Linked DNA regions of Homo sapiens: regions 1, 2, 3, 5, 6 and 7 are each linked to region 4. The links are contacts of gene promoters, found by promoter capture Hi-C in blood cells and fetal thymus (Javierre and others, 2016). All regions are on one chromosome and are shown on one strand. The core of a region is centred on a gene start or on the middle of the fragment in contact, and the rest is flanking DNA. Distances in the headings are between cores, read along the strand shown.

What was found. Contacts are between HindIII fragments. The CHiCAGO score rates a contact against its expected background, and 5 or more counts as called.
Region 1: a fragment that was not itself captured here is called in contact with the fragment with the promoter of FGFR1 in region 4 in 3 of 17 cell types (M0 macrophages, M1 macrophages and M2 macrophages); the score reaches 10.0 in M0 macrophages.
Region 2: a fragment that was not itself captured here is called in contact with the fragment with the promoter of FGFR1 in region 4 in 5 of 17 cell types (M0 macrophages, M1 macrophages, M2 macrophages and 2 more); the score reaches 24.5 in M0 macrophages.
Region 3: a fragment that was not itself captured here is called in contact with the fragment with the promoter of FGFR1 in region 4 in 4 of 17 cell types (M1 macrophages, M0 macrophages, M2 macrophages and 1 more); the score reaches 13.1 in M1 macrophages.
Region 5: a fragment that was not itself captured here is called in contact with the fragment with the promoter of FGFR1 in region 4 in 3 of 17 cell types (M1 macrophages, M0 macrophages and M2 macrophages); the score reaches 8.8 in M1 macrophages.
Region 6: a fragment that was not itself captured here is called in contact with the fragment with the promoter of FGFR1 in region 4 in 4 of 17 cell types (M0 macrophages, M1 macrophages, M2 macrophages and 1 more); the score reaches 9.3 in M0 macrophages.
Region 7: a fragment that was not itself captured here is called in contact with the fragment with the promoter of FGFR1 in region 4 in 5 of 17 cell types (M0 macrophages, M1 macrophages, M2 macrophages and 2 more); the score reaches 16.2 in M0 macrophages.

What each region holds. Positions count from the first base shown.
Region 1 is chr8:38,618,252-38,621,640 of GRCh38, reverse strand. No RefSeq gene overlaps it. Among named protein-coding and RNA genes, the nearest start is that of LINC03042, 91 kb to the right of the region's middle. The HindIII fragment of the contact is 6,514 bases long and covers 1-3,389 here.
Region 2 is chr8:38,698,379-38,702,062 of GRCh38, reverse strand. It overlaps LOC124901936 (a long non-coding RNA gene), which reads left to right and starts at 887. Exons shown (of 2, transcript XR_007060892.1): 1 at 887-1,109; 2 at 1,182-1,427. RefSeq lists an enhancer at 239-739. The HindIII fragment of the contact is 7,618 bases long and covers 1-3,684 here.
Region 3 is chr8:38,658,686-38,662,149 of GRCh38, reverse strand. No RefSeq gene overlaps it. Among named protein-coding and RNA genes, the nearest start is that of TACC1, 130 kb to the left of the region's middle. The HindIII fragment of the contact is 7,512 bases long and covers 1-3,464 here.
Region 4 is chr8:38,467,035-38,470,570 of GRCh38, reverse strand. It overlaps FGFR1 (fibroblast growth factor receptor 1), which reads left to right and starts at 1,936. Exons shown (of 18, transcript NM_023110.3): 1 at 1,936-2,590. RefSeq lists enhancers at 1,604-1,773, 1,210-2,196 and silencers at 2,054-2,123, 2,394-2,523, 2,534-2,653. The HindIII fragment of the contact is 10,295 bases long and covers 1-3,536 here.
Region 5 is chr8:38,598,406-38,602,286 of GRCh38, reverse strand. It overlaps the pseudogene RNF5P1. Among named protein-coding and RNA genes, the nearest start is that of LINC03042, 72 kb to the right of the region's middle. The HindIII fragment of the contact is 7,404 bases long and covers 1-3,881 here.
Region 6 is chr8:38,638,300-38,641,663 of GRCh38, reverse strand. No RefSeq gene overlaps it. Among named protein-coding and RNA genes, the nearest start is that of LINC03042, 110 kb to the right of the region's middle. The HindIII fragment of the contact is 550 bases long and covers 1,307-1,856 here.
Region 7 is chr8:38,678,319-38,681,944 of GRCh38, reverse strand. No RefSeq gene overlaps it. Among named protein-coding and RNA genes, the nearest start is that of TACC1, 110 kb to the left of the region's middle. The HindIII fragment of the contact is 5,437 bases long and covers 1-3,626 here.

The DNA.
Region 1 (3,389 bases), core at 253-2,752, 150 kb before region 4:
GTTCCCCCAACTCTGTTAGGGCAGACTCCCAAGCTGCAAAGCTATTGGGAAGGGAATGCTGTAATGAGGGGTGGTGGGGAGGAGAGACCTTCCAACTGGCCTCCCTCCGTCCATTCATGCGCACTTCCATTCTGTTCGGCACACCGCAGCCAGGTATAGTTTTATACACAAAATTCACCTATTTTAATTGGGTAGTTTGATGAAATGTTAGTAACTTTACACAGTCTTGTAAGCATGAGCACAATCAAGATATAGATGTTTCCATTACCATAAAAACTTTATTAATGCAACCATTGCTGTCCATATCTTCTCCCTACCCCTACCCAGGCAACTACGATTGCTCTGTTTTGCCTTTTCTAAGATTTCATATAAATGGAATCAGACAGCGTGCTGTCTTTTTGTTTTTCACTTCTTCCACTTAGTATGGTATTTTTGAGATTCATTTATGTTGCATGTATTAATAATTTCATTCACTTTTATTGCTGAGTAGTGTATGAGTATACCCAATCTGATTATCCACTCAGCAGTGAAGTTTGGGTTCTTTCCAGTTTTGACCTATTTTGAATGAAGCTGCTGTGAACATTCACATACAAGACTTTGTGAGGACATATATTTTCATTTCTCTTGGGTAAATTTCTGGGAGTGGGATAGCTGGGTCATAGGGTAAGTATATATTTCGCTTTATAAGATACTGTGGCTGGGTGCAGCGGCTCGTGCCTGTAATCCCAGCACTTTGGGAGGCCAGGAGGGTGGATCACCTGAGGTCAGGAGTTCCAGACCAGCCTGGCCAACATGGAAAAACCCTGTCTCTTCTGCCAACTTACATTTGACTCTCCAAAGAAATAGAACCAATAAGATATATCTATAAATAAATTTATTATAAGGTATTGGGTCACATGATTATGGAATCTGAGAACTCCCACAATCTACCATCTGCAAGCTGGAGACCCAGGAAAGCCAGCGGTATATTTCAAAGTCCTGAGAGTCAGAGAGCCAGTGGTGCAGGTTCCAGTCTGAGCCTGAAGCCCTAAGAACATGAGCACTGAGGGCAGGTATCATGAGCTGGTATCCCAGCTCAAGCAATCAGGCAGAAAATGTATTCACACTTCCTCCACCTTTTCTTCTATTCAGGCCCTCAACAGACTAGATGATGCCCACTCACACAGGGGAGGGCCAAGTACTTTACTCAGTCCACCAATTCAAAGGCTAATCTCTTCCAAAAGCACCCTCACAAATACACCCAGAAGCAATGTTTCACCAGCTGTCTGGGCACTCCTTGGCCCAGTCAAGATGACACATAAAATTAACCATCACAGCACCCTCAACCAGGATTTCAAGGATAGTTTGATAAAGAGACTATATACAAAGGTTAAAAGAAATAAAAAGAGAAGTTAAGGCATTCCAGGATTAGCAAATGTGGGAAGCCATTGTGACTCCTAGGCCTGAATGGGCAGAGGGAAAAAGGTGCTACAAGAACCAGCAAAGTTGGAACCATGGGAACGGGGCCACCCAACAGGAACTGCTGTTGTAGAATACAGGCACCACCAGAAACTCAGCACCCAGGCAGGGAGAAAGCAGGAGGGGAAATGTCATGGCTTCTCTTCCCTCTGTTCTCTTATCTCCTACTCATGCCTCCCATCGCCCAGACCCAACTGGAAGCCAGAGGGCAAGGGAGCCCAGGAGGCATAGTCTCAGTGATCACCCTCCTGGGGTGCACAGCAAGACAGAGTAGGACCTTCTCCAGCCTGGTTTTGCCCTCTTGTTCCTTCCAACACAGGCATACTGGATGTCTTTCAGTTCCTCAAATAGTTCTCTTCATCCCTTTGCTGCGTGATGATTCTTCTATGAATATTTTTCCCCTGTATGTGCCAACCTCACCCATCTTCAGCCTCCTTTTGTCAGCTTAAGCCTAAAATCTTCAAGGAAGTCTTTTATGGCTCCCCAGATTAGAAAATGACTCCCTTTTATATCTATTTCTAAAGCTCCTTGTACCTCTCTCTTACAACACTATGAATAATCAATCATGTATTATGATTAGTTAGTTATTTATCTAATATCTGCCTTCTCCAACAAACTGTGAGCTCAAGGAGAGCGGAAGCAAGTTTATTTTGCTCACTCCTCAATCTGCAGAACTAGCACAGGAAACAGCACAGGATCTGCACACAGGACTCGATAACCACATGTAGATGGATTAGTCAGTATGTCTGTCTCTCTTTCTGGAATATGAGGGAACTGATCATGTTCTACTAATTTCTGAATCTCCATCTCCAAACATGGTGCCTAGCATATAATAAGCTCTCAGTAAATATGATATAATATATTAATACATAGACAAAACTATTTATATTTTTAACCTAACTGCTTTTGAAAGTAAGGAGTTCCATTAATTTAATGCCCACTGTGAAAAGTTGTCTTTTTTAAAAATTCATCCTAAAATTAATAATAGACAATAGAGATTCCAAAAGGTGGAAGATGGGGGGGGGTGGGATGAGATGGGATGGGATGAGAAATTACCTACTGTGTACAATGTAAACTATTTGGGTGATGGCTACGTGAAAAGCCCAGACTTCACCACTACACCATGTATTCATGTACAAAACTTCACTTGTATCCCCTAAATCTATAAAAATTAAAATTAAAAAATTTGTCCTAAAATTGCCTCTTTTGAGCTTGGAGTCTTCACCCTGCTCCCCAGTTTTGTAATTCTCAGCCTTGGGAGCCAAGTCTGTATCCAACATGTTTCTGCAGCCTTCACTTCTGCCAACTCACATTTGACTTTCCCAGTCCAACTGGACGACATCTCTGCAGTCTCTTTATATTTGGCCAGACTTCAGCCCCTAGAATACTTTATTTCTGTCTTCTAGAATTTTTCAAACCCCATCATATATTACTAACTTTCCAGTGTCAGAAATGTCCATTACACTGTACTTGTCTGTTAGGTTCTTAAACCAAAGAAGGACATGGCTTTCTCTTTCCATCCCAGTCCTTGTCCTGATGTGCAAGTCAATCAAATTCTTGGAGAGTCAGTTTCTTCATCTATAAAATAGCTGTGATATCTGATAAACCAATTATGTATTGCTGGGTAACAAACCATCTAAAAACTTAGTGGCTTAAAACAACCATTTTATTTGCTCATGATTCCATGAGTCAGCTATTTGGGTTGGGCTCAGTTGGGGCCTCTTCTGCTCATCTTGCCTGGGGTCACTCATGCAGCTACAGTCACCTGGCAGTTCAGCTGGAGCTTGATTGGTTTTGAGGGCCTCAACTGAGACAGCTTGTCTGCTCCATGAGGCCTCATCCTCTGTAGGCTAGTCCATGCTGCTTCACATGATAGCAGGAGAGTTCCTGGTAGCAAGAGAAGGCAAAACACCAATACACAAGGGCTTTCA
Region 2 (3,684 bases), core at 835-3,334, 230 kb before region 4:
GGCAGGCATGAGCAGGAACGTGGGCAAAAGCCTTGCTTCCCTGTTCGGAGCAGAGCATTAACTGTTCTGTGTTGTTGGCTGAGAACAATTAGTGCAGGTTTCTCTGGGTAACTGGGTGAAACACAGGCCCTGTGCATAATTCTACGTGCTCACCCCTTGCCTGCATATGACTATTTTCAAACAAATTTCCCATCCAGAAGTGCTCAGCTTCTCAGAGAGCCCCCATGCCTGGCTTCTTGCTCTGGCCCTCCACCGAGCTGGGACGCAGCTGGATTGCAATTCCATGGCCGTCCACTTCCTGCTGCTCCACGCTGGACTGTGGTCATCCTCGTGCTAAGGAAGGTCACGGGCTTGTTAATTAGCTGGAAAGCAAAGACAGACAGGATACAAATGTTCCTAGAAAGAAACTAGCATAGTGTGACGTCAGTACTGTTTTCAACTTTTAGCTGCTACCCTTTCCTGTTTCCTGAGGACATTTCAACATGACTTCGAGCACAGTTAAAGTGAACTGCCAAGGTTAAGCGAGGTATGGGCCTCAGAGCCACAATGCACTGATTTTTCTCTTGGTTTCTCAAAGGGAAGGTATGTGAAACCACAATGGGAAATACAGATTTCCAAGTTTTATTTTTATTTGCATGCAACATATATTTGCATGATCCTTTATTCTTGACATTTTTGCATTCATAATTTCATTTGAAGTTTTACCAGAATCATTTTAGGTAAGGTGGGCATTTATCTTTCCCTATCTCATCAGAATGAGATATTTGAGCTTAGAGAGCTACTACAGGTAGTAGTGACCAAGGTAGGACTAATTCTAGGTTTCCCGGCTCCTAGACAGGATTTCCATTGCATCCGATTGCCTTTCATTACAGAACCCAGAAAGAGCTGTGGGTTGGTCAAAATCTATCAGATCTGTTCAAGTGGAGATATGCTTTTGTTTTTTTCGTCTGTCCAGCTTTCCTTCCTTACGGAATCTCCCAGCCCCTAATTCTATAATACTACTCGCTTAGTTTGGCTGTGGTGAAACCCACCTTGTCCTCTACTAAAGATATGGAACGAAGACCTCGTCAGTCAATCTTCCATGATCCCGGCCACCGCAATTGGCTCAGGTAGGGGCACATGACCTAAGTTGGCCAATCAGTTTTCTTGGGCCTTTTGTTAACGCTCTTTTGTTTCTCCAGGTCGTTGCTGCCATGAAGTAAGAGTCTGTCTGGAAATGAAGGCGAGCAGAGGCCACAAAGCTGAGACATGGAGACAGAGAGAGTCCTGATGTTATTATTTGAACCATTGAGTCCAGCTGTGCCTGAAACTCTTCAGTGAGCCAAGAAATTCCTTTTTGGCTTAAGCCAATTGGAGTCGTGTTTGTGATACTTGCAAATGAAAGGAGTTATTGACTAATAAAACTGCCATTTCTATCTCTCCAAGAATTAGGAAATACTTCTTTAAAACTGTTTATTTGCAGTATGCTTTATTCCTTCCCACAAAAAAGAGGCAGCTTATAAAAGTAAATATGAAAAATAGGCACAAAGGGTGTATAATACATGAAATACATGTGTATATGTCTAGCACAGTCTTTATATTAAGTTGACAAAAATTATTATTATTATTATTATTTTTGCAACAGAGTTTCACTCTTGTCACCCAGGCTGGAGTTCAATGGCATGATCTCGGCTCACTGCAACCTCCACCTCCTGGGTTCAAGTGATTCTCCAGCTTCAGCCTCCCGAGTAGCTGGAATTACAGGTGCCCGCCACCACCAGCCCAGTTAATTTTTGTATTTTTGGTAGAGATGGGGTTTCACCATGTAGGCCAGGCTGGTCTTGAATTCCTGACCTCAGGTGATCTGCCTACCTTGGCCTCCCAAAGTGCTGGGATTACAGGCGTAAGTCACTGCACCTGGCCCAAAAATTATTTTTTAAGTTACAGTACGAACTACTGCTGAGGGTGCTGGGTAATTAACATTGTTGGAGAAATTATAAACTGGTGCAAACCTTCTGGAGATAAATTTGACAATGCTTATTCATATCCATTGTTTGTCTATAATCAACCATTCTTCTTTTAGGAATGCATCTGAAAGAAATAATTACATAAATAAGGAGATATGCAAAGATTTAGCTATGAGAATGATTGTTTAATCACCAGAAGTTGGAAAACAGCCTGAATATCCAATGACATAAAAACAAAATTGGCGGGGCGCGGTGGCTCACGCCTGTAATCCCAGCACTTTGGGAGGCCGAGGCGGGCGGATCACAAGGTCAGAGATCGAGACCATCCTGGCTAAGACGGTGAAACCCCATCTCTACTAAAAATCAAAAAATTAGCCGGGCCTGGTGGCGGGTGTCTGTAGTCCCAGCTACTTGGGAGGCTGAGGCAGGAGAATGGCCTGAACCCAGGAGGCGGAGCTGGCAGTGAGCCGAGATGATGCCACTGCACTCCAGCCTGGGCGACAGAGAGAGACTCTGTCTCAAAAAAAAAAAAAAAAAATTATCTGTCCACCAATTGGAATACCATGTATTTATTAAAATAATGATGTGGAATTTTATTTACTGACTTGGAACAATATTCATATATTGTGAACTGGCTTTGGACTAATACATTTAAATTCTCCCTAGGCTGACTGGGCGCGGTGGTCCGTGCCTGTAATCCCAGCACTATGGGAGGCTGAGACGGGTGGATCACTTGAGAGCAGGAATTTGAGACCAGCCTGGCCAAGATGGTGAAACTCCATCTCTACAAAAATACAAAAATTAGCCAGGCATGGTGGCATGCACCTGTAATCCCAGCTACTCAGGAGGCTGAGGCAGGAGAATCGCTTGAACCCGGGAGGTGGAGGTTGCAGTGAGCCGAGATTGCACCACTGCACTCCACCGTGGGTGACAGAGTGAGATGCTGTCTCAATAAAATAAAATAAAACAATTAATTCTCCCTAGGCTGCAGCAAGAATCGAATGAATCACTCTTAACCCCATGCCAAACAAACAAACAAACAAACAAAAAAACCCTACTTGTTGGTTGTGGGCCTTAAAAAGAGAGCTGTATAGAAGTGGCAAAAATTAAGTTTGTGTATCCTTGCTTGGGTCAAATTTGGCTGTCCATAGATATGAGGTTAATTTTTTCCTGTTAGAGCATGTGCTGGTTCTATCTATACATGCTCCAATTTTCAAATATTTCACTAATATTAGGAGATTATCTGTTGGCATTGAGTTGGGTCTCAAAGTATCATCTATTCTAGACCAATGGTCACCAAAATGTATGTATCCTCAAAATAAAGCACTGGTCTGTGAAAAGAAAATCTTAGAACTTCTATTTCTAGTTAACCCTTTTTAATGTAAAAATATAATAAATGTGTTTTATAATGAACATAATACATGTGCCTTATAAGTAATGTGTTTTCTAATGCACATAATAAAACAGGATAGTATATAACAAATACATATGCAAAGATTATTAAAATGTTTTTGATGATAAAGTATGTTCTGGTCACCTATTGCTGTGTAGCAAACAAACTGAAAAGCTGGTGGCTCATTCATAATCTTGTGGACCAGGAATTTGTAAAGCACTCAACTGGGCTGTTCATCTTTGCCCCAAGTAGCATCAAATGGAGCAGCTGCCTCCAAGATGGTATACTCACATGGCTGGCAAGTAGGTGCTGACTATCAGTTGGGAGCTCAGCCAAGGCTGTTGG
Region 3 (3,464 bases), core at 945-3,444, 190 kb before region 4:
CCTCCACCTCCTAGGTTCAAGTGATTCTCGTGCCTCAGCCTCCCAAGTAGCTGGGACTACAGGTGCATGCCACCACACCCAGCTAATTTTCATATTTTTAGTAGAGATGGGGTTTCACCATGTTGGCCAGGATGGTCTCGATCTCTTGACCTCGTGATCCACCCACCTTAGCCTCCCAAAGTGCTGGGATTACTGGTGTGAGCCACCAAGACTGGCCCATGCTGAATGTTTTTGAGTAAAGGTATTACCTTATCTACTGGGGGAACCTGCCCCCAATATTTCAACGTAGGTTCTTTCTATTTTCCATAAGTGTCAGCCAGCTGAGAAATAAAGAGAAAGAGTACAAAGAGAGGAATTTTACAGCTGGGCCACCAGGGGTGACATCACATATTGGTAGGACCATGATGCCCACCTGAGCTGCAAAACCAGCAGGTTTTTATTAAGGGTTTCAAAAGGGGAGGGGGTGTACAAACAGGGAGTCGGTCACATCCTTCAAGGGGCAAAAAGCAGAACAAAGATCACATGCTTCTGAGGAAACAGGGCAAGGGCAAAATCAGAACTCCTGATAAAGGTCTATGTTCAGCGGTGCACGTATTGTCTTGATAAACATCTTAACAGAAAACAGGGTTCGAGAGCAGAGAACCAGTCTGACCAAAAATTTACCAGGGTGGAGTTTCCCAATCCTAGTAAGCCTCAGGGTACCACAGGAGACCAGGGCGTATTTCAGTCCTTAGCTCAACCGCATAGGACAGACATTCCCAGAGCGGCCGTTTATAGACCTCCCCCCAGGAATGCATTCCTTCCCCAGGGTATTAATATTAATATTCCTTGCTAGGAAAAGAATTTAGCGATATCTCTCCTACTTGCATGTCTGTTTATAGGCTCTCTGCAAGAAGAAAAATATGGCTCCGCAGGCAGTCAGACCTTATGGTTGTCTTCCCTTGTTCCCTAAAAATCGATGTTATTCTGTTCTTTTTCAAGGTGCACTGATTTCATATTGTTCGAACACACATGTTTTACAATCAATTTGTACAGTTAACACAATTATCACAGTGGTCCTGAGGTGACGTACATCCTCAGCTTACGAAGATAACATGACTAAGAGATTAAAGTAAAGACAGGCATAAGAAATTATAAAAATATTATCTGGGAACTGATAAATGTCCATGAAATCTTCACAATTTATGTTCCTCTGCTGCAGCTCCAGCCAGTTCCTCCATTCAGGGTCTCTGACTTTCTGCAACACTTATCAGATCTTTGCCATGGAATGATAACTCTGATTCTCAGGTATAAAGCAACTGTGATAATCCAGGCAAGAAATGATGAAAGCCCAAACTAAACAATTGCAGTAGGGATGGAGGAGAGGAGAAGGGTTGGAAAAATAGAAGGTTCTCTACAAGACTCAATGACATAATAAGGAGATGGAGACTTGTGAGGGCTCCAAAACAATTCCTTCCCATGTCTTTAAAAAAACTAAGTGATGGTCTTGCCTCTCACCAAAACAGAGAATACTGGGAAGAGAAGCCAACTGTGCTCCCATGAAGTCAGAGTGTCCATGATACAGAACCATGGCTCTCCTCTCCCCAACAGTCCACTAGTGTTTCCCAATCTGCTTCTTTGCCATCCTCTCAAAGTGTCACACAGCCCAGTCACTTTGAGAACATCACTGGTTCTCAACTTTGGCCAAAAGAAAACTGTGTGTTCAGCAAGTGCTTCACCAATGGCAGGATTTCACCATAATGTCTGTGGGCAGCTTCACAATTTCTGATTCAGACCATTCTTGCAACTGCAAAAGCCGCTGAAAGGTCTCTGAATGAACATCTCATGTTCTCATGTCCACTACTGCAGGGAAGGTGGAGATGCCATTCATTCCTTAGCAGATTTTTTTTCCAGCTTGTGGTTTTCACAAACCACATAGAAGACTACACATTCCTGTCCAATCAGCAGGCTGAAGACTCATGCTTGTACAGTACACATTGGTGCTGTGCGATGTACCCACAGCCAGGGAAGTCTCTGACTACTCCTGAAAACCCACTGTGGCAGCAGAGTCTGATCTGATTACTGAGAGAAGTTTTGGCAGTCCTGAATTTGAAAGAGCTGCTATGAATTTGACCCCAGGTTGAAGAGTGTTGCAATCAGATGTCATCATTCTACTGAACCTGAAGAAGACAGAGCACAGCCTGAGCTGTAGACTGGACTACAGAGTTGGGGCTGGCCCAGAAAAGAAGAGTGCTCAGTGATAGCAGCTTGAAACAACAAATGTATATTCCTTTACATTGTTCCTGTGGGTCAGGAGCCCAGGAGCAGCTTATCTGGGTGATTCTGATTTGAGGTCTCTCATGAAGTTGCAGTCAAACTATTGGTCAGGACTGCAGTCATCTGAAGGCTTGACTGGGGCTGGAGGATTCAATTCCAAGCTCACTCACATGGTTGTAGGTAGAAGTCTCAGTTCCATGCCATGTGGGCCTCTCCATATGGTTTCTTTCCATTGGGCTGCATATAGCATCTGGCTTTGCCCAGTGTAAGAGAGAAAGACAGAGTGGCACAGAGACAAAGAGAGACTCAGATCTCTGTGGAAGCCACAGTATCTTTTATAACCTAATCTCAGAACTGGCATACCAATATTTCTGCCGTATTCTAATTGGTCATATAGACCATCCCTGGCACAATGTGAGAGAGAATAACACAACCGTGTCAATGCCAGGAGGCAGAGGTCCCCACCAGAGCCATCTTGGAGGATGGCTACCATGCTGTGAAAGTTTTGGTGAGCCCTCAATCCTGTACAGAATCTGGTAAACAGCCAGAAGGAAAGACAATTCAACCTATGAGACTTACATTTAGCTTTTTTTTTTTCCAACTTGATCACAGTATAGGAAACTTTGCACACTTTATATTGCCTGCGTTTTGATCTCCAGTGGACCCAGCATTTCCAGCCCACTCCATTCATGAACCTTCCATGCATAGTGCCAGCCTCTAAATGCAACTTCACCTGCATCTAGAACCAACACTATATATAGTTCAGCACTTTATCACTTTTTTATTGTTCTGCATATACTTATATGGCTTCCCCAACTAGACTGTAGGCTCCTTATGAGAAAGGAACATATGTCTTCTTTTTATTTGGAAGGGACCACAGTGGCAAGCCTTCTGCTAGACACAAGGTGGTTGTTTAATCAAGAGTTATTCACTGACTGATTGACTTCGAGACCCTCCTTAAATCCTCCTTTTTATAGTCTGGGAATTTGAGGAGTCAGCAAGGAAAAAACTTGGTCAGATGAATCATCACTCAAGTCCAGAGCAAAACTCCATAGGCAGCTGCTGATCCCAGCTGGGGGAAGAAGGCTGGCTCTTAGGCCGAGGCTCAGAGGCTGCCTGCTGCATTTAGCTCGGGCTAATGATGCAGCCTTTCTTGCACTGAGCTGCCCACTAACTCATGAGGCTGTTGGAAGCCTTGTTCCTGTACA
Region 4 (3,536 bases), core at 687-3,186:
AAACTCCTGGGCTCAAGCCATCCTCCTTCTTCAGCCTCCACCTCCAGCTAATTTTTAAAAATATTTTGTAGAGACAAGGGCTCACTTTGTTTCCCAGGCTGGTCTTGAACTTCTGGCTTCAAGTGATCCTCCCGCTTCGGCCACCCAAAGTGCTGGGATTACAGGCGTGAGCTGTAATTTAGTTGTTTATTTACTCATTTGTTCAACAAATACTTATTGAATATTTGCTCTTTGGCCAGTCAAGGGATTTCATGAGTGTCTACTATGTGAATAACACTGTGTTGGCCACTAGTCTGTCACCTACTGGTGGATTAGAAAAATAGCGCGAGGACCATTTTTTCTTTTCTTTTCTTTTTTTTTTTGAGACGGAGTCTTGCTCTGTTGCCAGGCTGGAGTGCAGTGGCACAATCTCGGCTCACTGCAACCTCCGCCTCCCGGGTTCAAGCGATTCCTCTGCCGCAGCCTCCCCAGTAGCTGGGATTACAGGCAAGCGCCACCATGCCTGGCTAATTTTTTTGTATTTTAGTAGAGACGGGGTTTCACCTTGTTGGCAAGGATAGTCTCGATCTCCCGACCTCGTGATCCACCCGCCTCGGCCTCCCAAAGTGCTGGGATTACAGGCATAAGCCACCGCACCCGGCCAACTCTTTTCTTAAATTAGCCAGGGAGGCGTGGGTGGGTTGGGTGAGGAGTTGGGTGGGGGGATCTCATTCAGTATTCAAACTTCTACAAGTTTCGGGGTTGAGGTGGGTGATGGTAAGGGAACAGGCCCTGCCACTACCTTTCATAGTGACTTCCATTTGTGTAATATTTTTGGTCCACTGAGAGCTATTATTTTATTTGATTCTTATGACCATCTTGTGAAGGAGTATCAACAGATACCCCGTTTTGATTTTATCAGATGCATGATTTGTCCTACATCAAACTTCATAAATGATGGACAGAATGGAGGAATCCTTCAGACCAAGTGCTGCCTACTTCCCACCCCAATGGTGGCCTCAGCCTGGGCTCACATCACACGCCCCAAGGAGCCTTGGAAAAAATAAAGGCTCTTGGCTCCTTCCTGGGACAGCGTGATTCCTCATGTCTGAGCAGGCCCATGAACTTGTATTTTTCAGACGTTCCCTAGGACCCGTGTCCATCTGGATTAGGGAACCACTACATTATACCACTTCGCGGGAAGACTCAGGGGGAAGCATTTTAGCCACTTTCCTGTGTTCCACAGTACTGGAGGGTGTTCTGAGTGGGCTGTGATTAATTTCCAAACCAACCACACGTCTCCCCTCAACTCCCACTGCTTACTCTTTGCTTCCTAGACATTCACTGCAGGCTGGAGACTTCTGGAAGCCAACAGCATCGCTGTAGAATTTACAGGGTCCAGTTCCCGGTGGACCACAAAACCTAAATTATGTGGCTGGGGAAAGCTGAAATCCAAGGGAAGGGTTTGAGGAGGGGCTGACCTTATAATAAAACCGGCTTGTATTTACTAAGTGTTAACTATGCGCTAGGCCCTCGTTGACGCCTCAACTCTATGTGAAAAGCACTATTATCCCCCATTTACAGATGGGAAAACAGAGATTTAGAGCGCGAAAATCATTTCCCCAAGGCGCACAGACTCCAAAGCCCACGCTACCAGGTACAACCTCAAGGCTGCGGCGTCTCTTCACCTGCCCCCTAGCCCCCAAACCGCTGCTATGTCTAGGGCCTGACATTCCGGCGCCCTCTGGGACGTGCTCAGATGCAGGGGCGCAAACGCCAAAGGAGACCAGGCTGTAGGAAGAGAAGGGCAGAGCGCCGGACAGCTCGGCCCGCTCCCCGTCCTTTGGGGCCGCGGCTGGGGAACTACAAGGCCCAGCAGGCAGCTGCAGGGGGCGGAGGCGGAGGAGGGACCAGCGCGGGTGGGAGTGAGAGAGCGAGCCCTCGCGCCCCGCCGGCGCATAGCGCTCGGAGCGCTCTTGCGGCCACAGGCGCGGCGTCCTCGGCGGCGGGCGGCAGCTAGCGGGAGCCGGGACGCCGGTGCAGCCGCAGCGCGCGGAGGAACCCGGGTGTGCCGGGAGCTGGGCGGCCACGTCCGGACGGGACCGAGACCCCTCGTAGCGCATTGCGGCGACCTCGCCTTCCCCGGCCGCGAGCGCGCCGCTGCTTGAAAAGCCGCGGAACCCAAGGACTTTTCTCCGGTCCGAGCTCGGGGCGCCCCGCAGGGCGCACGGTACCCGTGCTGCAGTCGGGCACGCCGCGGCGCCGGGGCCTCCGCAGGGCGATGGAGCCCGGTCTGCAAGGAAAGTGAGGCGCCGCCGCTGCGTTCTGGAGGAGGGGGGCACAAGGTCTGGAGACCCCGGGTGGCGGACGGGAGCCCTCCCCCCGCCCCGCCTCCGGGGCACCAGCTCCGGCTCCATTGTTCCCGCCCGGGCTGGAGGCGCCGAGCACCGAGCGCCGCCGGGAGTCGAGCGCCGGCCGCGGAGCTCTTGCGACCCCGCCAGGACCCGAACAGAGCCCGGGGGCGGCGGGCCGGAGCCGGGGACGCGGGCACACGCCCGCTCGCACAAGCCACGGCGGACTCTCCCGAGGCGGAACCTCCACGCCGAGCGAGGTAAGAGCCGCGGCGCCCCCGGATCTGGGGCGGGCTTGGCGTCCCGAGCGGCCCCCGGCGCCGGAGCCTCCCGGCTGCGCGCTTTGCCCGCCGCAGCCCAGCCGGGGCCGGCGCCTCCCTCCGCTCGCCGCCCGCCCCTTTCACCTCCTGGCTCCCTCCCGGGCGATCCGCGCCCCTTGGGTCTCCCCTCCCTTCCCTCCGTCCGCGTCTCCTGCGCCCCCTCCCTGCGCTCGTCCCGCCGCTCTTCCCGCCGCCCAACTTTTCCTCCAACTCGCGCTCGGGAGCTGGCGAGGCGGCGGCGGCTCCTCAGTGAGTCCCGGGAGGGACAGGCCCGGGGCGAAGGCGGCGAGGCCCGCGGTTTCCTGGACTGGGGAGGAGGGCGGGAGTGGGCGGCGAGGTGGGATGCGTTGTGTGTGTTATGTGTGTGTGTTGCATTCCACTCCATGTCTTTTTGGTCCCCTTTTGGGGATTCACCCCCAATTCAGCAGGTAGCTTTGGGCTCAACGCTAAAAATCCGGGGCATTCCTAAGTCCTTTTCCACCCCCGGGAAAGCCTGGGGTGCGGGTTGGGGTCGGATGGGGTGGGAGATGAACTGCGGAGGACGTGGAGGGCTAGGTTAGCTTCTCTTGGAATAGGTTTTAAGGAGGTGTCGTCACCAAATGGCTGAATCTGCTTGAGCTGAGAGCGAAAAACGACTCCCCTTTCCAGAAGGGGTGATCTTATGACTTGGACGGTCTCTGAAAGGGTCGGAAGTTTGGGGAACGGGAGGACAACCCACGGTCGTTAAGCCGAGGTGTGGGATGGGGGCGGAAGGACCGTTCGGTCCCAATCTGGTTCCTAGAGGTGGGGGAAGGGATGAGGGTTTTTGTCCGGTGTGGTTCACTCGGCAGCGATGCGTATGCTTCTCTGGCCCAGACCCCTCTGCACCTCGCTTCCCCTACCGTTA
Region 5 (3,881 bases), core at 13-2,512, 130 kb before region 4:
TATTTTGGAGGAAACCGAGGTGAAGCTGAACACTGCCCCCAAGAAAGCCAGGCCCGGAAGTCTCCCCACACTGGCAGGGACTGGTCAGGTAGGGAAAGCTCTGCCTCTACCCCTCCTTCCTGCCCTCTAGCCCCATCGAAGAGAGAGAAAAGGAGGGAGGGTTGCAGAGGCAGACTACACCATCCTCCTGTTCTCCGGGTTGCTGGGAGCCAATGCTCTCACCAGCCCAGGAGGAGGGAGGACAGAGTGTTGCATTGTGCTTAAGACTGAAGTTTGGAAATGTGAACAGGCCCAAGCCTTAACTGCTGGAATGAGACTGTGTGAATGTCCAAAAGTGACAGGGGAGGCATGGCACCCATCCAAGGAAGCATTAGGGGATGTGAAGCAGCGGGACAGAGGGCCTACACTGTATAAATGAAAGCAGCAATTGGGGAAAATAAATCATACCATTGCAAGCTCACACTTCAACAGTTCAGACTCCTCCATCTAACCAGTTATAATGAGTTTCTCTGAACCTGATTTGTAAAAGTGTCACATGCAGGCTGCTGCCTCCACCAGCTAGGCTGTGCCCTTCATCCGGCGCTTGGGACCCAAGCTCAGACAGCCGTCTTCCTGCAGCAGTGACATGCCCAGGTGAGAACAGGTCCCAGCCCTCGTCACTCCAAAGCCAGACACAGAACTACATGGGCTGCAGCACAAAGAGGTCTTTGTTGGCATCCATCCTCAGACAATCTCAATATCCCTCCCCTCAGGTTGCAAGTGTCAGACATCAGGAAACTTTCTCCAAGGAAGCAAGGCTGAGTAAGGGCTGCCAGGCTACCAAGAAGCCAGCTCCACCATATATTTCACAGAATGAGGCTTTTTGGAGTGACACAGACCAGGGAGAAAAATGCTATGGGCACTCAAATTCTTGAGCTTGTTACTGCTCTAGGGCAAGGTGTGAAGAAAGCATTGTGGAAGATGCTGCACCATGGAAATCTGTTGGGAGAAGGAGTGGGAGCGTCTTGGTAATAATAAAGCAGGTTGGGGCGTGTGTATGTGTATTTGGGGGGACTGAAGGGTACGTGGGGCGAAACAAAACCGGCCATGGCAGCAGCGGAGGAGGAGGACGGGGGCCCCGAGGGGCCAAATCGCGAGCGGGGCGGGGCGGGCGCGACCTTCGAATGTAATATATGTTTGGAGACTGCTCGGGAAGCTGTGGTCAGTGTGTGTGGCCACCTGTACTGTTGGCCATGTCTTCATCAGTGGCTGGCACGGCCAGAACGGCAAGAGTGTCCAGTATGTAAAGCTGGGATCAGCAGAGAGAAGGTTGTCCCGCTTTATGGGCGAGGGAGCCAGAAGCCCCAGGATCCCAGATTGAAAACTCCACCCCGCCCCCAGGGCCAGAGACCAGCTCCAGAGAGCAGAGGGGGATTCCAGCCATTTGGTGATACCGGGGGCTTCCACTTCTCATTTGGTGTTGGTGCTTTTCCCTTTGGCTTTTTCACCATCGTCTTCAATGCCCATGAGCCTTTCCGCCGGGGTACAGGTGTGGATCTGGGACAGGGTCACCCGGCCTCCAGCTGACAGGATTCCCTCTTCCTGTTTCTCGCCATCTTCTTCTTTTTTTGGCTGCTCAGTATTTGAGCTATGTCTGCTTCCCGCCCACCTCCAGCCAGAGGAGAATCAGTATTGAGGGTCCCTGCTGACCCTTCCGTACTCCTGGACCCCCTTGACCCCTCTATTTCTGTTGGCTAAGGCCAGCCTTGGACATTCTCCAGGAAGGCCTGGGGAGGAGGAGTGAAGTCTGTGCATAGATGGGAGAGCCTTCTGCTCAGAGGCTCACTCAGTAACGTTGTTTAATTCTCTGCCCTGGGGAAGGAGGATGGATTGAGAGAATGTCTTTCTCCTCTCCTAAGTCTTTGCTTTCCCTGATTTCTTGATTTGATCTTGAAAGGTGGGCAAAGTTCCCTCTGACTCTTCCCCCACTCCCCATCTTATTGATTTAATTTAATTTTTCACTCCCCAGAGTCTAATATGGATTCTGACTCTTAAGTGCTTCCTCCCCCTCACTACCTCCTTTAATACAAATTCAATAAAAAAGGTGAAATAAAAAAAAAATCAATAAAGCAAAATAAAATTTGCTGGCATATGGGGCTCAAACAACTCAATTAGAATCAATTCACCAAATATTTACGGAAACCCCATTGCATGCACGAAATAGTATTAGGCACAGTTAGGAATAGAAAGATCAGTAGGGCAGGGTCTGTTTTAAAATGTACCTGGGATTGGCTGGGTGAGGTGGCTCACCCCTGTAATCCCAGCACTTTGGGAGGCCAAGGCGGGTGGATCACCTGAGGTCAGGAGTTCGAGACCAGCCTGACCAACATGGTGAAACCCCATCTCTACTAAAAATACAAACATTATGTGGGCGTGGTGGGGGCACCTGTAATTCCAACTACTCCGGAGGCTAAGGCAGAAGAATCGCTTGAACCCGGGAGGCAGAAGTTGCAGTGAGCCAAGATCGCGCCATTGCACTCCAGCCTGGGTGACAGAGCAAGACTCCATCTCAAAAATAATAATAATAACAAAATAAAATGTACCTGGGATTTATTTAGGCATGATGAGACCAGCAGATCAGGAGACAACTGCCATTCAAACTGTTCCCAAGCAGAGGAAGTGCACTTACCACCCAGGGTCCCGTGGGAAGCACCAGGGTCTGTCAAGAAGAAACACAGGTAACAGCCTGTGTGTGGTTATCTTGGAAAGGAATAGGCAGGGAAGGGTAAGCAGCCCAACAGGTCTAGGAATGAAAAATTTGAATAATTTTGGCAGGCTCTGGGCTTTAGAGGTGGTTGTCCAGTATCTGGCCCTCAGGCAATTAGGGCAGGGGATTAGTGTCCTGGCCTTGGGATCTGGTGGGGCTATGGACTTGGAATTGGTTGGTTTGCATATCAAAAATGAGCTTGCAGGAAATATGGAACCAGCCCAAATGCCCATCAATTAATGAGTGGATAAAGAAACTGTGATATATATTGGAATATTACTCAGCCATAAAAAGGAATGAATTAATGGTATTCACAGCAACCTGGATGGAATTGGAGTCTATTGTTCTAAGTGAAGTAACTCAGGAATGGAAAACCAAACATTGTATGTTCTCACTCATAAATGGGAGCTAAGCTATGAGGATGCAAAGAATAAGAATGATACAGTGGACTTTGGGGACTCAGGGGAAAGGGTGGGAGGGGGGTGAGAAGTTAGACTACAAATTGGGTTCCGTGTACACTGCTTAGGTGATGGGTGCATCAAAATCTCACAAATCCCCACTAAAGAACTTGCTCAGGTAAACAAATACCAGCTGTTCCCCAAAAACCTGTGGAAATAAAAAAATTCAACACTTTTTATAAATGAGCTTGCAGGAGAGTTGTGTGTTATCTCTAGGAATTAGTTAACCCTGGATGGGGCAGTGCTTCCTGGGTCCCAGATGGCAAGGAAACATGGTCAACACAGAGTTTCTGCTCTCAAGCTAAAAATTCAGGAGGAAGGACCTAGAACATGTCCACAAGCATAACACAAGACAGAATATAATATGTGGCATAAAAGATACAAATGAAGGGCATGGGATTTCCTAGAGAAGGAGAAATTATCCAGTTGAGGGAATCAGGAAATGCTTCAGGGAAGAGGTAGTATTTAGGCAATGAATAACAAAATATATTTAGTTTTTAATTGATAATACATGTGCATGATTTTTTAGAATCCAAAACAACAACAAGGGTCAAACTAAGAAAGGCAAAGCTATAGTGATGAAGAAGAAATCAGTAGTTGCCAGGGGTTAGGATTGGAAGGAGGAAAGAAATAAAAAGGAATAGCACAAGGGAGCTTTGGGGATGATAGAACTGTTC
Region 6 (3,364 bases), core at 332-2,831, 170 kb before region 4:
CTACGAACATTTTTATATATGTCTTTTGGTGAACATATGCTCACATTTCATTTTGGTATAAACCCAAGAGTGGAATTTCTGGGCCACAGGGTATCTGTACCTTTAACTCTGGTAAATAATGCCAATTTACCAAAATCCTTGTACCAATTTACAATCCCACAACTTCTCATCCTCCCAAATACTTAGTATTGTCAATATTTTCAATTTTAGTCATTTTAGACCCATGGTCATTTGAATTTGCATTTTCCCAATAACTAATGAAGTTGACTACTGTCTCAGGTCAGGTCCCTTGAGAAACAGACTGAGATGGAGGTTTGCATGAGGAAGTTGATTGGGGAATGCCCTTAGATGGACACCTGTCAGAGACAGAAGGCAACAGGATGGACGTCTCATTGCAATAGGCTTCCGCTGATCCCATGGGAACTCAGGAGCTGGCCTGACCCTTCAGAGTTGTCCTGCCTTGAGGCAAGGGGGCCAAGCCTTCACAGCAATCACTGAATGTGGTTTTGACCCATCATTGAATGCAGGTTGTCCTTGGAAAGGAGTATGACTGGGTAGTAGAGTTCTCTTTTGCCAAGGGCAGTTCCTAGAGAGGACCACAGGGGAGGAGAAGGCTCCCAGAAGCTAGGGAGATGAGCGCTTTAGTCCCAGAAGGCAACCTTAACTCCACACTGTAGCTGCATCAAGCACCTTTTCATATGCTTCCTGGCTACTTAGAGACCCTCTCCTGTAAAGTGCCTATACTGATTTGCCAAGTTCTTTTTCATTAGGTTGTCTTTCTTTTACTTATTGATTTATAGAAGTGTTTTGTATATTTTAAAGATGAGTCCTTTGTCAGATATATGCAATACAAAAATATATATTGCCTTTTCATTCTTTTCATGGTGTCTTTTTATGAATGGAAATTCTTAATTTTCACAGTTTTTTATTCCTTTTTGACAAGTGGGTTTTATTGTGATCTGTTTACAAAATCTTCACATACTCTAATATCATGAGAATATTCACATGTTGCCTTCTAGAAGCTTTATTGTATTACTCTTCATATTAATGTCTGTGGTCCACCCTGAATTGATTGTTGTGTATAGCATGTTCTAGAGACCAAATTTACTTTTTTTTGTTTGGACTTCTAATTAACCTTAGCACCGTTTACTGAAAAGATCACCCTCATCTCATTACATTTCAGTGATAACTTTGCCATAAGCCGGGTGACTGTGTCTATGTGGGTCTATTTCTGGGTCCTGTTATGTTCTGTTGGTCTTTATGTCTGTCTTTGTACCAATTCCATACAATTTTAATTATCAAAGCTTAAGATAAGTCTTGATAGCTGATCATATAACTCCTCTGACTTTGTTTTCCTCAAGAGTGTCTTTATTATGCATAGCTCTTTCCATTTCCACATAGATTTTAGAATCAGCTTGTCAATTTCTACCAAAAAAAACAACAACCTGGCTTGGATTTCTATTGGAATTGTATTGAATCTATCGATCAATTTTGAGAGAATTGACTTTTTACAGCACTGAGTCTTCCAATCCCTGACCATGGTATATATTTACTGTCTTAGTCTGTTTTCTGTTGCTTACAACAGAATATCAGAAACTCAGTAATTTGTAAGGAAAATAAATTTATTTCTTATCGTTATGGAGGCTGAGAAGTCAAAGGTCAAGAGATCACAACTAATGAGAGCCTTCCTGCTGGTGGAGATTCTCTGCAGAGTCCCAGGGTGGCATAGAATACCACAGTGGGGGCTGTGTGTACTAGTTCAGGTCTCTCTTCCTCTTCTTATAAAGCCACCAGTCCCATTCCCATGACAACTCATTAATCCATTAGCCCATTAGCCTATAAATCCATGAAAAGCTTAATCCATTCCTGAGAGCAGAGCTGCCATGACCCAATCACATCTTAATGGCCTTACCTCTCAATACTGCTGTATTAGGGATTCAATTTCAACATGAATTTTGGAAAGAACAAATATTCAGACTAAAACATCTATCTCTTCTTTAATTTCTCTCAGTAATGTTTTGTAATTTGCAGTAAGGAGATCTTATACCTCTTTTGTTAGATTTATTCCTACATGTTTGATTTTTTTTTTTTAAGAGTGTCTCACTCTGTCACCCAGCTTGGAGCACAGCAGCATGATCATAGCTCACTGGAGCTCAAACTCATGGGCTCAGGTGATCCTCCTGCCTCAGCCTCTCAAGTAGCTAGGACTGCAGGCACAAGCCACCATGCCCAACATAGTAGTCTTTATTTAATCTTGATTTTCCTTTAAAGAAATTATCAGATGATATTTTATTATATACCATATGTACAAGAGTAGATTCCAATTGTGTGGGGCAGTAGCTTATAAAATTCGGGTGGCCATTTAAAAATATTCATTTATTATTATTATTTTAAATGTGGTAAAATACACACAACATAAAATTTACCATCTTAACCATTTTTAAAGTATTCAGTTCAGTGCCATTAAATACATTCATGGTATTGTGCAACAATCACCAGTATCCATCCCTAAGATTCTTTTATCTTGCAAAACTGAAACTCTATACCCATTAAACAATAACTCTTTATTTCCCCTCCTATGAGTCCATTTTGCTTTCTGTGTCCATGAATTTGACTATTCTAGATCTGTCATATAAATGGATTCATATAGTATTTGTCTTTTTGTGACTGACTTATTTCACTTAGCATAATATCCTCAAAGTTCATCCATGTTGTAGCATATGTCAGAATTTCTTTCCTTTTTAAGGCTGAATATTTCATTGTCCTTGGGACAGGACAAGCCTACCTTCCTAGTAGACCTAGACATTGGCCCCAAAGATGTCTTCTCCATTTCTACCATGAGGACCTAGAGAGTCATAAAATAGTCCTGGAAACCAGACCTCATTAGCCAGATTTAATGAGGCCTCGTTATGACACTCACTAATTTTGCAATTTCTCCACCCACAATGTCTTGGATTCCTTATTTATAAGGCACTTTCACATGTGATCTCACAAAATCACAACAATCCCGATATAGAAATGAGGAAACTGAGACTCAGAAAGACCAACTGGCCTTTGCAAGGTTACACTTTTGATAAACAGGCAAGACAGGATTCAAAGCAAAATCTCCTGCCAAGAAACCTTCTGATTTTAAATGCCAAGTTCCTGAAATGAAATTGAGACTCAAAGCCAGGCACGGTGGCTAACGCCTGTAATCCCAGCACTGTGGGAGGCCAAGGTGGGCGGATTGCTTGAGGACAGGAGTTCGAGACCAGCCTGGCCAACATAGTGAAACCCCATCTCTACTAAAGATACAAAAAAATTAGCTGGGCCTCAGCCTTGGGAGGCTGAGGCAGGAAAATCGCTTGGACCTGGGAGGTGGAGG
Region 7 (3,626 bases), core at 501-3,000, 210 kb before region 4:
GATTATAGGCGTGCACCACCACACCCAGTTAATTTTTTATTTCAAGTAGAGACAGGGTTTCACCATGTTGCCCAGGCTGGTCTCGAACTCCTGACCTCAGGTGATCTGCCTTCCTCAGCCTCCCAAAGTGTTGGGATTACAGGCGTGAGCCACCGCACCCAGCCAGCTCAATGAATTTTGACAAATGTATACTTTCAGTTAACTACCACCTGAGACTATAGACCCTATCGAAGGTCCCAGGAAATCCCCTTGTGCCCTTTCTGCTGTTTATTTTATTTTATTATTATTTTTTTAGAGATGGGGTCTCACTCTGTCACCCAGGCTGGAGTGCAGTGGCATGATCCATAGCTCACTGCAGCCCCCAGCTCCTGGGCTCAAGCAATCCTTCCCTGTCAGCCTCCTGAATGACTGGGACTACAGGAGCATACCACCATGCCTGGCTTGTTTTTTTAAATTTTTTTTTGTGGAGACAGGGTCTTACTATGTTGCCCAGGCTGGTCTCAAACTCCTGGCCTCAAGCAATCCTCCCACCTCAGCCTCCCAAAGTGCTGGGATCACAGGCGTGAGGCACCTCACCCAGCTACTGTTTAATGTTTAATCACATGCAGGTCTTACAGTGGTACTGAGCTCTGACCTCACTTGGAGTTGCTTGTCCTCCTTGCCACTCTGGAGCCTGCCACCAACACAGGCTGCAGTTCTTCCCTCCCCTTAGCCACCCTCGCCATAGCCGGGTGAGGGAGCTGGGGCAGATTCCATTGCCTTCTTTTAAAAAGTTATCATCTTGTAGCTCAGAGAGGTCAAGTGATTTGCTCGTGGCCACCCAGCCAGTAAGGAGCAGTGTGATGGCTGGACCCAGCTCTTCCATGCTTGTTCTCAGGGCTCCTTCCTCTGCCCTGGCTTTGTGCACAACACACACATGGCTGTTTTCAGGAGAGCAAAAAGCTACTGCCCTGCTGGGGTGAGAGTTGATCAGGATGTAGACCATCCATGAATCAAGGGAGCAGATGCATGGAGGCCGCTTTTGCCCAGGTTAGACGTGGCCCAGGTTCTAGATTCTAGACTGCTTCTCATGTGGGAGTCACCTCTGCCTAGCAAGCTCGTGATATGAGTTCTCGTCTCATCTCTCCCTTCTCTTTTGTGCCCCCAACACAAATGAGCAGTACGATTAATATGTATCACAATCACCTGCGGAGCTATTTACACCTCCCAGTTCTCAAACCAACTGCACTTCAATAAAGGCTTGTGAGAGGAGCTCGCTATCCGCCCCCAACCCAGAGGAAGGAGCTAACATTCATCAGTTTCCACGGTTCCGCCCCTAGCAACATTTCCTAGAAGATTCCCCTTCCTTAACGTCTTTCTCCATTGTCTTAGCTATCTGAGTAGCTCCTAGATTATTGGGTGCCTTTGGATCATGTCCATTATTCAACTCGTTCATCTAATCTCTGCTCCTTTCCGGAATTGTCCTTTAACCCCTGGAAAGCCTTAATGTTTGTGGTCATTCAACACAGCCCAAATATGCCAAATACACATGCAAACACACCCTGTGCTGAAAACCCTTCTGCAGCTCCACTGAATCAAGTCCAAAGTCCTTAAAGTGGGACCTAAGAGTCTGCCAGTACCTGATCCCTGCTTACCTTCCAGTTGCATCATTTGTCCAACTTCCCTGAAACATACCCTCTCTTTCCACCACTATTTTCCAACTGCTTTCCCACCTTCACTCATATGCAAGCTCTGCTCTCGGCCTGGAAAAGCCCTACTCTTGGGTCCATCTAGGAAACACCTTCTCATTTTTCAGGACTCAGATTGAAGATCTCTTCCTTCAGAAAACATCTCAGCCTCTCCCCTCACACCCCACACCCCAAAATGCATTATTCCTTCTTTTTAGGCTCTGTCTCCTATCCCTAACTAAACCAGGAGCCATGTATCTTCAGAGCCATAGAGTCTGAACACACATAGTGGGTACCGAGGGCAGGGCCATGAGCCCACATTTTCCTGTTAAAATAGTATTCCAGTAAAAGTGTTTACTGAGTATTTTCTCTGTGCCAGACACTGTTTTAAGTGCTTTTTTTCTATTAGACTTATTTGTATAAAAATATCTTTTTCTCTAATATTAGTTACTCAGAGTGCCCTCATGTCAGGTTTCAGAGGATGCAATATAACTTTTTTTTTTTTTTTTGAGACAGGGCCTCACTCTTTTGCCCAGGCTGGAGTGCTGGAGTGCAGTGGCATGAACATGGCTCACTGCAGCCTCAACCTCCTGGGCTCAAGCAGTCTTCCCACCTTAGCCTCTGGAGTGGCTGGAATCACAGGCCCATGCGCCACCACACCTGGCTATTTTTTATTTTTTACTTTTTGTTTTATGTTGTTTATGTTTTTTATTTTTTATTTTATGTTGCCTGGGCTGGTCTCAAACTCCTGGGCTCAAGCAATCCTCCTGCCCTGGCCTCCCAAAGTGTTGAGATCACAGGCATAAGCCACTATACCCAGCCACAATGTAAGTTTTAATTGTAGCATCTGTAAGATTCAATAAGAGCCATTGTCCCCTGTTGATTGGAGGGTTCCACTGGATTGCAGCCGTATGTTGGACATCTCTGATTCATTCATCTGAGTGGGATTGTTTTCATAGTTTCATTTATTGTAGTTTTTAAAAGTGCTAATTGAATTATTTGAAGCGTGATTTAGTTTATTTTGACAATCTCATTCCCATTATATCTAAACATGTAAATACAAGTCAATAGGAAAAAATTATTCAAGATATACAAATGATTCAATATAGAAAGGCTTTTAAATTTTATTTTAAAAGCAATCTCTCAGGACCATGTCTATTCCATTCCAGATATTTAACATGCCTTGAGGAAGAGCATCATTTTTATAGAAAGGGGATTCACGTTCCCCTAGATTTACGATGCAGGATAGAGTTGGGGGTCCCAGTGCAGAAAGGGGACCAGCAGCTGAGCCCTCCAGCCTCCTCATTATCACTGGCATGTGCTGGCATTTCTTAGGGGATGGCCAGCTTAAAGCCACCAAAACGTACTTCTTCATTCATTAATCTCTGAGAGTGGGAGTGGAGACAGGTAAATCCGCGCAAGATTGGCATGAAGTGCAATATGACTTCGCTTTCTTACAAGGAGCCACCCTTCATAGAAATTGCTTCCTTCAACCTTTCAAAGGATGAAATGCTAGAAGACAGACAGCATCTGGCTCAAACAGCAGCATATCAAAGGGGATAACGGTACACTGTGTGGTGAACAACGGGTTCCTGTATACTGAGCAGGATGATGGCAGAGGAAGAAAGCAGCCTGTGTGAGGCACAGTAAAAAAGGGTCGGTGCACCTGTGGATGTGTTAAAGAAGAGAGTGAGGACTACGGCGAGAATGACGCCATTCTGCTCAGGTGACCCGAAGAGGCAGGCAGCCATCCTCCCACGGGGGCATGAGACACAGCTGTCTTTGACTCAGGGACTGGAAGAGAAACTAAGGACAGAGGTTCTCCTTTATTTTTATTTTATTATTATTGTTTGAGACAGGGTCTTGCTCTGTTGCCCAGGCTGAAGTCCAGTGGTGTGATCACTGGACTAACTCCAGCCTCAACCTCCTGGATTCAAGCGATCCTCCCACCTCAGCCCC